Linked DNA regions of Homo sapiens: all the other regions are linked to region 1. Evidence: promoter capture Hi-C in 16 types of primary human blood cells and fetal thymus (Javierre and others, 2016). All regions are on one chromosome and are shown on one strand. The core of a region is centred on a gene start or on the middle of the fragment in contact, and the rest is flanking DNA. Distances in the headings are between cores, read along the strand shown.

Region 1 (2,751 bases), core at 47-2,546:
TCTTAGATTATTCCTTGGGCCTTCTTTTGTTCACCATCGGTTCTTGGATCTTGTTCCTTTCAAGATTGGTCCTTAATGCATTTTTAAAAAGCAACGTATATGGGTAAGGATATCAATATCTTAGTATGCTGTATTCTGTATGTTAGCTCATTTTGGCTTTCTAGGATGAACTGACTCTATCCCACATCATGTAACTTGAAATGAATAGACTCATATCCTTTCCACTGATTGCTGTCCATTCTAATCATGCAGCAGAACTCAGTGGAGCGAGCTGTAGTGTGAAAGGAGATGTCAGTTCATGCTTTTCTGAAAAGAATGGGTCCGGTGTGATGATATTCTGAAATATTTCAGCAATAGCCATGAAATATAATAGTTTCCCAAGCACACAAAGCTCAAGAAGTTAATTGTTCATTTATGTTTGATACTGGGATTGAAACATTGGATTAAAACCAATTAAATGTTCCTAGAAGCAACAGAAAAAGTTTCCTTATTTATGAATAGAACCATTCAAATGGCGCAGACACAATCCATGTAAAGTAATGAGGTGTTTTGTTTTTTTGGCAAAGGAGAACACAAAACAGGCATAGGGAGTTTTAAAAAAACTTCTCTTTAAAAATCGCTTTTTGGATACAAGGTCAATAAAATAACATACACCAGTAGGAAGGAGTAATGGGAAATCTAGGGCTTCACAAGGAAAACAATCCCCCTCCCCCAGGTGAGCAGCACAATGAAAATACTCTGCTTATTCTATCAGGGTTACATTCCTGAACTTAAGTCAACATCCTAAGTTACAGAACTAAACATGCTCTGCCTCTGCTTAGCAACCACAAATCCTTCCTTCGCCAGTTGCATGTATTTTGGATGTGGCTTCTGAAGTACACAGTCACAGCGCCCCGAGTTAGGAAATTTGCGCTTTATTTTCCCAAAGTGTGACAACACTTTAAGGTCCCCCCTCCCCGACCCCACCCGCCCGCTGTCCTGCACGCCACTGAAGTGATCGTTTCTTTTGAACCTCGGCATCTAACAACCCGGAAGCTGGACGCCTGAAGCCTATGCGGCCCAGCGTTTTCATCCCGGCTCGTGCTGGGGGCGGGGAGAGAAGCCCGTAGGGCCTCTGGCGCGGGGCCCGGGCAGCCGCGGTGGCGCGGCCCAGGCCCGGGGCCACTTCCCGCGTCCCGGGGCCTCGCAGGCGCGAGCGCGGCGAGCGGCGCGCGGCTGAGCCCGCAGGACGCCCTCTAGCCCCGCCGGCGGCGCGCCGCGAGTCCCTCACTCCCCGCCCATCGGCGGCTGCGCGCACTGCACACTCGCCTGCCGCCGCCGCCGCACGCCGCCTGCCTCCTGCACGCCGCCGCCGCGCCTAGCGCCCGGGCCCGCGACACCGCCCGCTAAGCGCCGGGCCGAGTTCACGCAGCCGCGGTCTGGCGGCTCCGCGGCGGCGGCGGGTGCGGGCGGCCTGGCCGGTGCCGGTTAAAGGGACGAGTTGCAAACACTTCAGGAAGTGACAAGTCGATTTCCTCCTCCCCGGGAGTCGCTCGTACAAAGCGCTCGGCGCCGGCAGGCGAGCGTGCGCGCGGCGGACGCGCGGCGGGCACCCCGGACGACTTGGCGAGCGCTGGCGGTGACGGCGCGGGGTCCGCGCCCGGAGCGCCCCGCCGCGCACAGTAAGCGACCCGGGGCCGGGCGGCGGCGGCGGTGGCCGGGGGGCTGGCCCCGAGCGAGGTCCGGGCCGTGTGCGTCCCGGCCGCTGGCTGGAGGGAGCCCGGCTCGCGTGCGCAATGGGCTTGCCTTTTTTTTTTCTTTTTTCCTAATGTTGCTGGTTTCCTTTTTTTCTGCCTTGTTTCGCCTTTGGGTTGGGTCGGGCGGTTTCTCCGGGCGCTCGGTCTCGCCCCTGATGCAGGCGTGAGACTTGTCAGAGCACAGGCATGGGGAAGAACAAGCCTGGCTGCGGCGGAAAAGTCTGCGCTCCCCAGGCCAGGGCGGGCGGGCGCGGGGACTGCTGCGCCCGGGGGTGTCCTCTCCGCGTCTCAACTTGAGCCCTGACTAGCCGCTGCGGAGGAGGCGCGGAGTCTCGGGAGCCGGGCGGCCCCATTCGCCCCGAAGTTCCCGCATCGTTTGCAGACAACTCTTTTGTTCGCGGAAGTTTGCACCCGCCACCCCCGGGGTGCGGGAGCGAGGCGGCGGGCTCCGCTGCTGCTGGACTGTCCGGGGCGGTCAGGATGGGGGTGAGGGGGCATTCTGTCCCGGGCGGGGGAAGCCCGCGGGGAGGCCACCGCTGGGGCTTGCGGAGTGGGGGCGTCCGCGCCGGCGTGGCTTTTGCACATGGCGAGAAGGGCCGTCCGGCACAGGCACACTGGTCGAGTCACATTTTTGCTAGTCTTGGATTTTGCAAGCCCGTGGGAGTCAGGTTCCCCGCTCAGGGTTTCTCTTGGGGCAGAGACGAAAGAAACGAGGACACCCAGAATCCGGGGAGGGTTTGCGGTTTGTGTTGTCCCAAGTGTGTTCTCGCTCCCCCCGCCCCCCCACCTTGTCCCCCAGCCCCCAGCTCTCCACCCCCATTTTCGGACTTGGGGAACAATGCTTGTAGTACGGGCCGGGGCGCCGCAGCAGCGACGAACCGCGCGGACAGGTTTGCCCGGGTCCCTCGCGTTCGGACGCCCCCTGAAGCCGAGCTCCTTCCATCTGACCGCCCGGGCTCATTAACACGTACTGTACTTAGGACGATGGTGAACAAAGAAAAGCTCTTTGCAGCGT
Region 2 (2,818 bases), core at 87-2,586, 660 kb after region 1:
TTTCTCCCCTGCGGTGATGGGCGGCCCGGCTGCTTATCCGGGGAATAATTAAATTAGGAACCAATTCAGAGAATGAAATTTTATCTGATTTGGCCAAGCCCGTAATAAGCAAGGGGCTGTAATTGTGACTCCAGGATACATTAGGAAGTTGTTTTTTCAAGGGTACGCTGGGTGAAAGCATTGAAAGAAATATGTGGAGACCAGGCCGGGAGATCTCCCTGGGCCAGGTTTCTTGCATGGCCTGGGGGTGTGGTCCCACAGGGCGGCTGTGTCCTCAGGCTGGTCCTTCCAGCGTTTATGTTTCCAGGCACCATTTAGCTCTGATGAGGTAGATAAAAGTGTTTTGTGGCTGGAGTGTTCTCTGTGCTTAGGAAAGTTCTGTTAAAATCCTTATGGATATCTATCTCATTGTTATCACTGATATTCTAAAGCACCTTTACAACTGTAATAAGAAGTAAACTTGGCAGAAACTCTGTGGCTATAAATCAGGGGTGCCGCTTTGCAACCCCCACGGAGCTTATTGAAAGAAATGCACATACTTTGGTCCTACATCAGCTGTTACATCAAGTCTCCGGGGATGGATGCTGGGCATTTGTGTGTGTGTGCACGCGTGTGTGTGTGCATGCGTGCATGTGTGTGCATGCGTGCATGTGTGTGCATGCATGGACCTGGATTCGTTAAGCTCTTTAGCTAAGAAACGCTGAGGGAACTTAGCAGTGATTGTAATCATTCTTCTAATGAGAATTTCCAGTTCTCCTATGGCAAAGATAAGGGACAGATAATTAGCACAGTGGTCTCAGGAATGAGCCTCATTTGTCCTCAATCTGTGATGAGACTTTGTGACTGTCTTTGAGTTTCATGTTCAGATTCCCTGATTGTAACTAACACACATTGTTCATCACTTGGTAGCAGTGGTGGAATTTTAGATCTGTTTTTCTCTTGGGGAAGGACCCCATTCTCATCCCCACAGTGGCCCAGGCTGGAGGCCCAGGAGTCTCCTTTGACAGATAGCTGGTCAGTGCAGAATTGCTTCCTTTGTGTCTCTGCCACTGGAAGGTTATCTGTTCCTTCAGAACAGGAAATGTGTCTTATTCAACGTGGCATCCCCAGGGCCTAGTCCATGGGAAAGAATGATTGGGCCGATGGACAGACAGATGGGTGAAAGGAAAACAGGCAAGAGTATAGTGAATAATTGAAAACTTTGACCCATAGTGCAGGGATGGTGAGTGTCTTTCAGATCGTCTGTTTATAGCTGGGGAAACGGAGGCCTGCAGAAGTCAGTGACTTGCCCTAATCCTTCAGCTTTGATCAAGAAGAACATTGGGGAGCCTGGCCCTTCAATGTCTTCAACTCTTCTGACTCAGGCTCTGCACATCCTCTTGAGAGTCACCCTCCAGTGAAAAGAACTCTTTATTGAGGCCCTGCTGTGTACCCCATGCTGTTCTAGGAGCTGGGGATCTAGCAGTGAGTTAGACACACAGGGTCCCAGTGCTCACAGAGGGCATATCCTCATGGAGAGAGACAGGCAGCAGACAAGGTCGCAAATATCAGAGAATAGACAGGCATAAGGGCCATGTGCTGGAGTGACCAGCTGGTGTGCGGGAAAGGCCTTTCCACAAAGGTGACATCTCCGTTGATTCTTGAATGTTCAGAGGGTGCTGCTGTCTGATGCTTGGAAGGAGGGAACAGTCAGTGCCAGGACCCCAAGGGGAGAACCTGTTGATGGGATGGGATTCATTTATGCTCGGGAGAAAGAGACTTGGTTTATTGGACGCCTGGGTTGATTTTCTTCTCTTCTGCATCCTCTGCACTGACATTTGCAGCTCTGCCTTCTCCCCGTCCCGTCTCTGGGTGAAGAACACCTGTCCGATGCTCGCTGGCCTGCAGCTGCTGCAGAGTTTCAGAAAACAGGGCTAGCAAAAAACAAAGCAAAACCCCAACATCCCTGTCCTCTCACTAAGGGCTTGGCTGGGGAGGCAGAGTTATTTTTATGTAAGCACATGCTTGAGGGGGTACGTCTTGGGGTGGGCAGCTGAAACCACACTCATAAAAACAAGACCGAAATAGGACTGTGAATTCCCAAAGGTGAACACAGGCCGTTAACTTGAATTTGGTGACAGTTCCATGCAGCCTAGGTCCTGGAGCGGGAACCCTTTGGAGGGGGATGAGGCATGGAAAACTGTTTGCTGATTTGGCCTCTTCTTTAAGCATTGCTTTCCGGCCCTGGCTGTGACAGAGACCTGGCCCTTGCTCAGGATTTGAGCCCCCTCAAGGGGAAGTTCTTCCTCCCTCCTGGTGCTGCCTCCAGCTGTTTCTGTCTCCTCGTCAGTAAGAACCTCTGTTTCTTGAGGGCCCTCCTGTTGGTTGTCCTCTTGTTGCAGCCACCTCCCTACCTGCGAGGGAGTGGGCCCCAGGCTGCCTCTCCATCCCAGGTCCTGCTGTTAACCTGGGTAACCGTGGTCTCCATGGGGCAGCACTCTGGCCTCCCAGGTCCTGCATCAGGACACCCTGAACCTTGTCTACTCCTGGACTGCTCCATACCACATGGAGTCCGTCCTTGTTAATGACGTGTTAATGCCAGGCTTTCTTGTGGAAACCACACCCAAGACACCAGCTGGTCAACCTGACACACAGTAGGGCCTCAACGGATTGTGTCATCAGTTATTTTCATAAACTTTAAATCTCTTTCTGGTCTCCCCAGACATCCTTAAGAGTGATCCTTTGTCACATTGCAAAGTTTTCCCAATAAATATTGGTCAGTAGTTGTGACAGTAATATACATCTCCATTTTATGTTGTTGACTAATTTTTAAATGGTG
Region 3 (3,009 bases), core at 373-2,872, 640 kb after region 1:
GTGTTGATATTTTTTAAATACTGAGCTGGAAAGCCTGAGGACTGCAAAACACACACGGATGCACCAACCCCATGGGTTCTGATCCTGAGAAACATGGGTTAGGCTCCTAGGGTGCTGGGAAGCTACAGCGGGGAATGGGTGGGTGGACGGATGCTACGGGGGATTTGGGAAGGGGTCAAAAGCAATGCTGTCTCTCAAATACAAGTTTCCTTTTCTATAGAATGGTTCGAATAAGGTGTAGACCCAGGGATGCTGTGAGATTAAGATTTTCGAAGTTAAGGGGCTTTAGCAGGGAGAGCGCTGGACTCGGATTTCAATCCTTCCTGATACAGTTATGACTTATCGGCTGTGAGTCCCTGGGTAAGAGGTTTCCCCTTTCTGAGCTTATTGTTTCACTTATAAAATGGGGCATTAATATTTCCTACACGAACCTTTAAGAGATAGGTACCAGGGCCCAAAGAACTGCATGAATATAAGTGCGTTTGCACAGAGATACTTACGGCATGATTATTTTTGGTGTGTTGCTACTGCAGCACTTTGCCTGGGGCAGGTCCTGTTCAGCCTTGGGACCTTGTTTATTTGTATTAGGCTTTTTGATGAGACTGGGGAGAGCTCCTTCACTAGGACTTCACAGAAAAGAACTCGTCTGTCTTTCCCTTCACATAATTAATATTCCAAATAAGAATTACACAGCCATTTCTATTAATATTTGATTCTTTGCCTCTTCAACTATCGGCTTAGTTTTCTGACTGAGATGAAAGAAGAAATAATTGTTTTTACAGCCACTCCTACTGAGGAGGCAGCTGTAGACCCTGATCGCAGCCAGGGAAGTAACAACTTTGTTTGGCCTGAGGACAAGAGGTGGGATGACGGTGTTAGCCTCAGTGGTTCCTGTGGGGAGAGAGAAGCCCCCCTCGGCTGCTTTTGAGGCAGATCCTGAAGGAATCGGCTTCTGAGTTCTGAGTGCCTTGGAGGCATGGGGAAGGCCTGCTGGAAGGCTGGTTCAGATGTGCTCCCTGCTGGGAAGAGATTGGTGCTCCACTCCCAGGACTTATAGAAGCCCAGCCTGGGGGAGGCAGATAATTAGCAGATGGGGCCAGAGGGTGACTTTCAGCTTCGACTCCAACACAGCCCCTGTTGGGCACCTGCAGGAGGCAGACAAGTACCTGGCTCGGAGGACGACTGGGCACGGCCTCCTCATCTTGGTAAAGACAATGGGGCTTCCCACTCTGGAAGGACAGAAGCCAGCCCTACACATGGTGCAGTGCCTGGGGGCCTCTGTGGTCCAGGAGATGTCCTTCTCCACTCCTTCACTTCTCAGAGGCTGGGCTCCTGCCTCCTGGAAAATTGCCACCACCCGGGGCCCAACCAGAGGCCAGATATCCCCAGAGGCATGGGGATAGTGAGGGGGTAGCCCCTGATCAGAGTCTCCACCTGGACTGAATTCTTAGAATTTTATGTTGCCCCAGCATCCATTTTGAATATAAATTTAACTTTCTCAGACCAGAGGTAGAGCTTGGACCCACCTGACAGTTTCCACTTCTCTGGCTCCTCCCAGTTCCTCAATGTGTTTGATCCAGACCTCTGCCTTATACCAGGCCTCCTGGTGACCATGTCCCCCACCACCTATGGGACAGCTGGGTACAGCCTACTCGATTCACCCCACTGACGTCCAGACTGCATGGACTGAGCAGATATGCCGCAGCGACCCCCTCTCTACCACAGCAACCCCATGGAACGTGTGCCTGCTTGCTCTAAACCCACCAGCTATAACTCCCATGGGAAACCTGCTTAGATAAGGCCCTGGACCCCAGTAAAGGTTCTGGCCCATGGGTCCCCCCGGCCCTGCTCCCGACGTGCTGGTGGAGCCTGTGTGCCCCAGACAGCTCCCTGCTGCCCGCTGGCCCTGAGGCATGCTGCCCTCTTCTCTCTGGGACCTGTAAGTAATAACACCTGGTTCTGTTATTTCATGTGTTTTGCTGAGTTACCTCCTCTGTGTCTCACTTGACTGACACACCCAAATCTACCTTCCCTTTTGCTCAGTGCTGTCCTAGAGAGTGGCTGTCCTGGTAGGAATAAACTGGACACAAGTCAGGCAAGAGTCACAAGGGCATCTGCCAGCACAAAGGACAGGGACACCTGGTCATGGGTCAGACACTTAGGCCTCAATCAAGCCGTTCCCCAGGGCAAAGAAGCATCCCATGAAAGGTACACAACCACCTCCCCTGCAGCGCTGTCAGGGCAGGGCTAGAGCTTATAGCTGCTCTCCTAGGAGAGACCTGAAGGCCACATTAGGGGACAATATAACACCAGCCTTGGAGCCTTTGCAAACTCTGTTCCAAAGCGAGAAGTCATTGTGATGCCATGTTTAGAGGCAGGTGGCCCCAGGCAGCAGGGACACCATCAAAGGTGGTGTCCACCATCAAAGGTGGTGTCCACTGTGAGTTGTGCCCCATCTGTAGGCCCTGCTCCACCTCTGTTTTGTCCTAGTCTCAGCTCCATCACCCCTCTACCCCCTCCCGTGATAGAGCCTGGCCTGGCTTGGGAATAAAAGGAGAAAACAGGAAATAGCAAACCGCCCCAAGGATTGTAATTGTGACACTGTCATCTGAAAATGTTTGCAGTCCTTGTTGGCATATGCTGCTGGAGCAAAAACATGCAAATCTGGAGCAAGGTGACAGGTGGCCCTTAGGATCCTGGAGGAGACCCCTGGGTTCCAGTTTGGTTCTAGTCTGCTGGGGTGGGATTCTCAGACAGCATCTGGCCCATTTCTGGGTTGGATGGTACTCTGAACAGGGCACTGATTCAAGGGCCAATGAGTCCCATCCCAACTCCTGCAAAGCTGTGTGCATTTTGCCAACTGCATGAGCTTGTAGACGGGGCAGTGTCCTCTCAGTCCTACTCAAACCCTTGCAGGCTCAGCTTAGCTGGAGCACCTGGAAGCCATTGGTGCAGAGCCACAGACTCAGCCGCTGGTGTTTATCACCCCAGAGGTTGCAAAGTGATGGC
Region 4 (2,945 bases), core at 214-2,713, 730 kb after region 1:
CTACCCACAGGGTGTTGTGAGGATGAAATGCAACCCCTAATATAGGAATTCTTTGCACATGTAGCACAAAACCCCCCATAAAGAAGCAAGAACACCTTGTGTTAAAATCCAGCTTCTGAAAGTAACTTTGCTAGGATAACTCTTTTGTGGTACAGTGAAATGCCATACCACTTTGGAAAAGTGCCCTATGGTGTTGGGGCAACTGCTCCTGAAATAATGCCCTTCTTCTGTGGTCCTAGGTGAGGCTCCAGGTTGGGCTCTATGCTGTGTACCTTCTGGACTGGCTCAGCGTTTTTGACAAGCAACAGTTTCTCATTCTTCGCCTGGAAGATCATGCATCCAACGTCAAGTACACCATGCACAAGGTCTTCCAGTTTCTGAACCTAGGTATGAGTGTGGTGCTTAGACTGACGGGCCAAAGCATGAGCTCCGTGGACTTGTTCTGGGAGTCCTCTGGGGCAAATGCAGACCTGGTCAGCTGGGTGGGAATGGGCTGAGCTGGGAGGCCTGGGGATGTCCTTCAGGAGGCCTGTTAAGTACCATTTATTGAGCACTAGCTGTACATAGGTCATTGTGCACAGTATGGTGAGGGATTCTCTGGAGAGAAGGAGATGGTTTCCCTTCTGGGAGCTTATGGTCTAGTGAAGGGAGAGGAGGAAGCCATAGCTCACCTAACTGAATGACAGGTAGGATGCCGTGGGGAAGGTCAGCACTGTCATGTAAGGTATGTGCTGATGGTTTGGGATCCCAGCTACTGCACGGATGAGGAAGGCTTCATGGAAGGAAAGGGCCTGAGAGCTGAGCTTTGTAGGACCAACAGGATGTCACCGGGGGGCTGGAGCAGAGGACTTGGGGCTTAGAGGAGGGAACAGACAGATCATTGCATCATCTCCGGTATTCTTGGAAATTCCAGGAGTCAGAGCCGTGTGGCTGAGTTTTGGCTGCTGATCATGGATGCTGGGCCCCTGGGGCATGAGCGCCTGCCCTCAGCCTGTGGATACCAGCCCCCCCAGGGGCCTGAGAGTCACTTTGTGGTGACAGGCCACACTGCTGACTATGGTGATGGCTGGCAGAGGCATGTGCTGGCGGAGCGAGTGCTGCCCATGTGGACGGGGCACCGAGGGATGGCTTGAAAGGCTGAGCAGGCTCGAACAAGCCGCCCTCCTTCCCAGAACGCCTCCTGCAGCCCTGACTAATGGTCTTGCCCGGGAACTTGGTTAATTGAGTATTTCTGAAAATATATCTGCCTGCCACTGGGACTTGGGCCTCTTTGATCATTTGATTTTGTTTCTCCTTTTTTTGGAGTTTGATGAGTTCTTTCCCTTCCAAGGCTTAGAATCATCTTTCTTTGATTTGACCACATGTTGACTCTGTCCCATTAATGAGCTTGTCTTTTGTCCCCAAGATGGATAGTAAGGCCAATTCTGTGTTTCATATGGCCCTAGGATGCTGGGACATGCTTTTTCTGTCTATGGGCTAAGGACTTTGGCCAGATCCCAAGAGCCCCCGGTAAAGAGGCTTGAGCAGTGATGGGTTACACCAAGAAGCTGTGGCCCAGAGGGCGGGGCGTTGGGGTCGCAGCCCTTGCTGTTCTGTTTCAGGGCCTCTCACTCCAGAGGGCGGGGCGTGTGCGTGACTGACAGCCCCTCCCGGCCTTTTCCAGGGCCTCTCCTCACTCCAGAGGGCGGGGCGTGGCGGTGACTGACAACCTCTGCCAGCCTGTTCCAGGGCCTCGCCTCACTCCAGAGGGCGGGGCGTGGGGGTGACTGACAGCCCTTGCCGGCAGGCCTCTTCTCCCTGATCTCCTTGCTGCAGATGGAGGTTCAGCCAGTGGGGGCTCTGGGCACAAGTGGCCTCCTCCCAGCCCTCCTCCCTATGGCCACTTCACAGCAAGACGCACAGGGTGAAACTGTGCAGGCCCAGGGACCTTGGCATGAGCAGCCTGAAGTAGAAACGATGATGGCGGAATTCCAGAGGGCTGCTGAGCAGGAAAACCGAAACCCGTGGGCTGTGCTCGGCAGGCCGCACGTTCCTCCAAGGACGGGCTGACACCCATGGAGAGCAGCCCACCAAGGGCAATTGGAAGGGAATCCTTGAGGTCAGCCTTAGACGCTGTATCATCATTAAATGCCAGCTGGGCTCCCCCGAGGGTGGGCATCCTGCACCCGCCGCAGAATTTCTTCGCAATTTCCTGATGGTGTTTCCACCTTCCTCCCTCAGTGCTTCCAAAATGGATCCAGCCAAAGAATTTTAATCCCTAAATATGTTCTCTTAAAGGAAACTCCTGTCTGAATACGAAGCATAGCTGGGATTTTTGCAAAGTCCCTTTTACTTCCTGCCATGCCTCCTGCCTTACGGGACTCGTCTTCTTTTATTCTAGGGCCCTTAAGTGAGAAGCAGGAGGCTTTGATGACCAAGAGCCCCGCATCCAATGCACGGCGTCCCGAGGACCGGAACCTGGGGCCCATGTGGCCCATCACACAGAAGATTCTGCGGGATTTCTACAGGCCCTTCAACGCTAGGCTGGCGCAGGTCCTCGCGGATGAGGCGTTTGCGTGGAAGACGACGTGAGAGCTGAATTGTTGCTGCACGTGCTGGGCCCGCCAATGCCGTCATCATCAGGATTTTACAAATCTCTTTGCGGGGAACTGTTTCACTCATGGTATGGAAAACCCCAGGACTCTGCCACTCTAGGCACACATGAATTATAACCATTTTGGAATTTCCTTCGTGATGTTCGAGAGCTCAGCAATGGACCCCTCACAGAGCTCCTCTATCCGAGGCCATTGGAGACCCCAGTTTCTCAAGAATTCAGCTCTGCTCTGAGCGTCCTGGAGCTTGGGGATGCAGCCAGCTGGCCTGCACTGGGTGTGGAGAGAACACCTAGGGAAGGCAGCCTGGCCCTGCCCGCCTCCGCCTTCTGGAGAGCCTCTGGGTTCTGAGTC

The links. The method cuts DNA at HindIII sites, captures the fragments that hold promoters and counts their contacts. A CHiCAGO score of 5 or more calls a contact.
Region 2: a contact is called between a fragment that was not itself captured here and the fragment with the promoter of FAM53B in region 1, in 1 of 17 cell types (total B cells). The highest score is 7.5, in total B cells.
Region 3: a contact is called between a fragment that was not itself captured here and the fragment with the promoter of FAM53B in region 1, in 2 of 17 cell types (naive B cells and total B cells). The highest score is 7.0, in naive B cells.
Region 4: a contact is called between a fragment that was not itself captured here and the fragment with the promoter of FAM53B in region 1, in 5 of 17 cell types (naive B cells, total B cells, neutrophils and 2 more). The highest score is 12.3, in naive B cells.

Annotation. Positions count from the first base shown.
Region 1 is chr10:124,742,923-124,745,673 of GRCh38, reverse strand. It overlaps FAM53B (family with sequence similarity 53 member B), which reads left to right and starts at 1,296. Exons shown (of 5, transcript NM_014661.4): 1 at 1,296-1,661. RefSeq lists silencers at 1,058-1,197, 1,328-1,377, 1,398-1,507, 1,558-1,717, 2,038-2,247 and 1 more. The HindIII fragment of the contact is 7,750 bases long and covers 1-2,751 here.
Region 2 is chr10:124,079,184-124,082,001 of GRCh38, reverse strand. The region is part of intron 1 of CHST15 (carbohydrate sulfotransferase 15); the gene reads left to right. Among named protein-coding and RNA genes, the nearest start is that of CHST15, 13 kb to the left of the region's middle. The HindIII fragment of the contact is 3,880 bases long and covers 1-2,818 here.
Region 3 is chr10:124,103,319-124,106,327 of GRCh38, reverse strand. No RefSeq gene overlaps it. Among named protein-coding and RNA genes, the nearest start is that of CHST15, 11 kb to the right of the region's middle. The HindIII fragment of the contact is 4,592 bases long and covers 1-3,009 here.
Region 4 is chr10:124,009,775-124,012,719 of GRCh38, reverse strand. CHST15 (carbohydrate sulfotransferase 15) reads left to right here. Exons shown (of 8, transcript NM_001270764.2): 7 at 240-387; 8 at 2,381-2,945. The coding sequence ends at 2,571. Among named protein-coding and RNA genes, the nearest start is that of CHST15, 82 kb to the left of the region's middle. The HindIII fragment of the contact is 4,917 bases long and covers 1-2,945 here.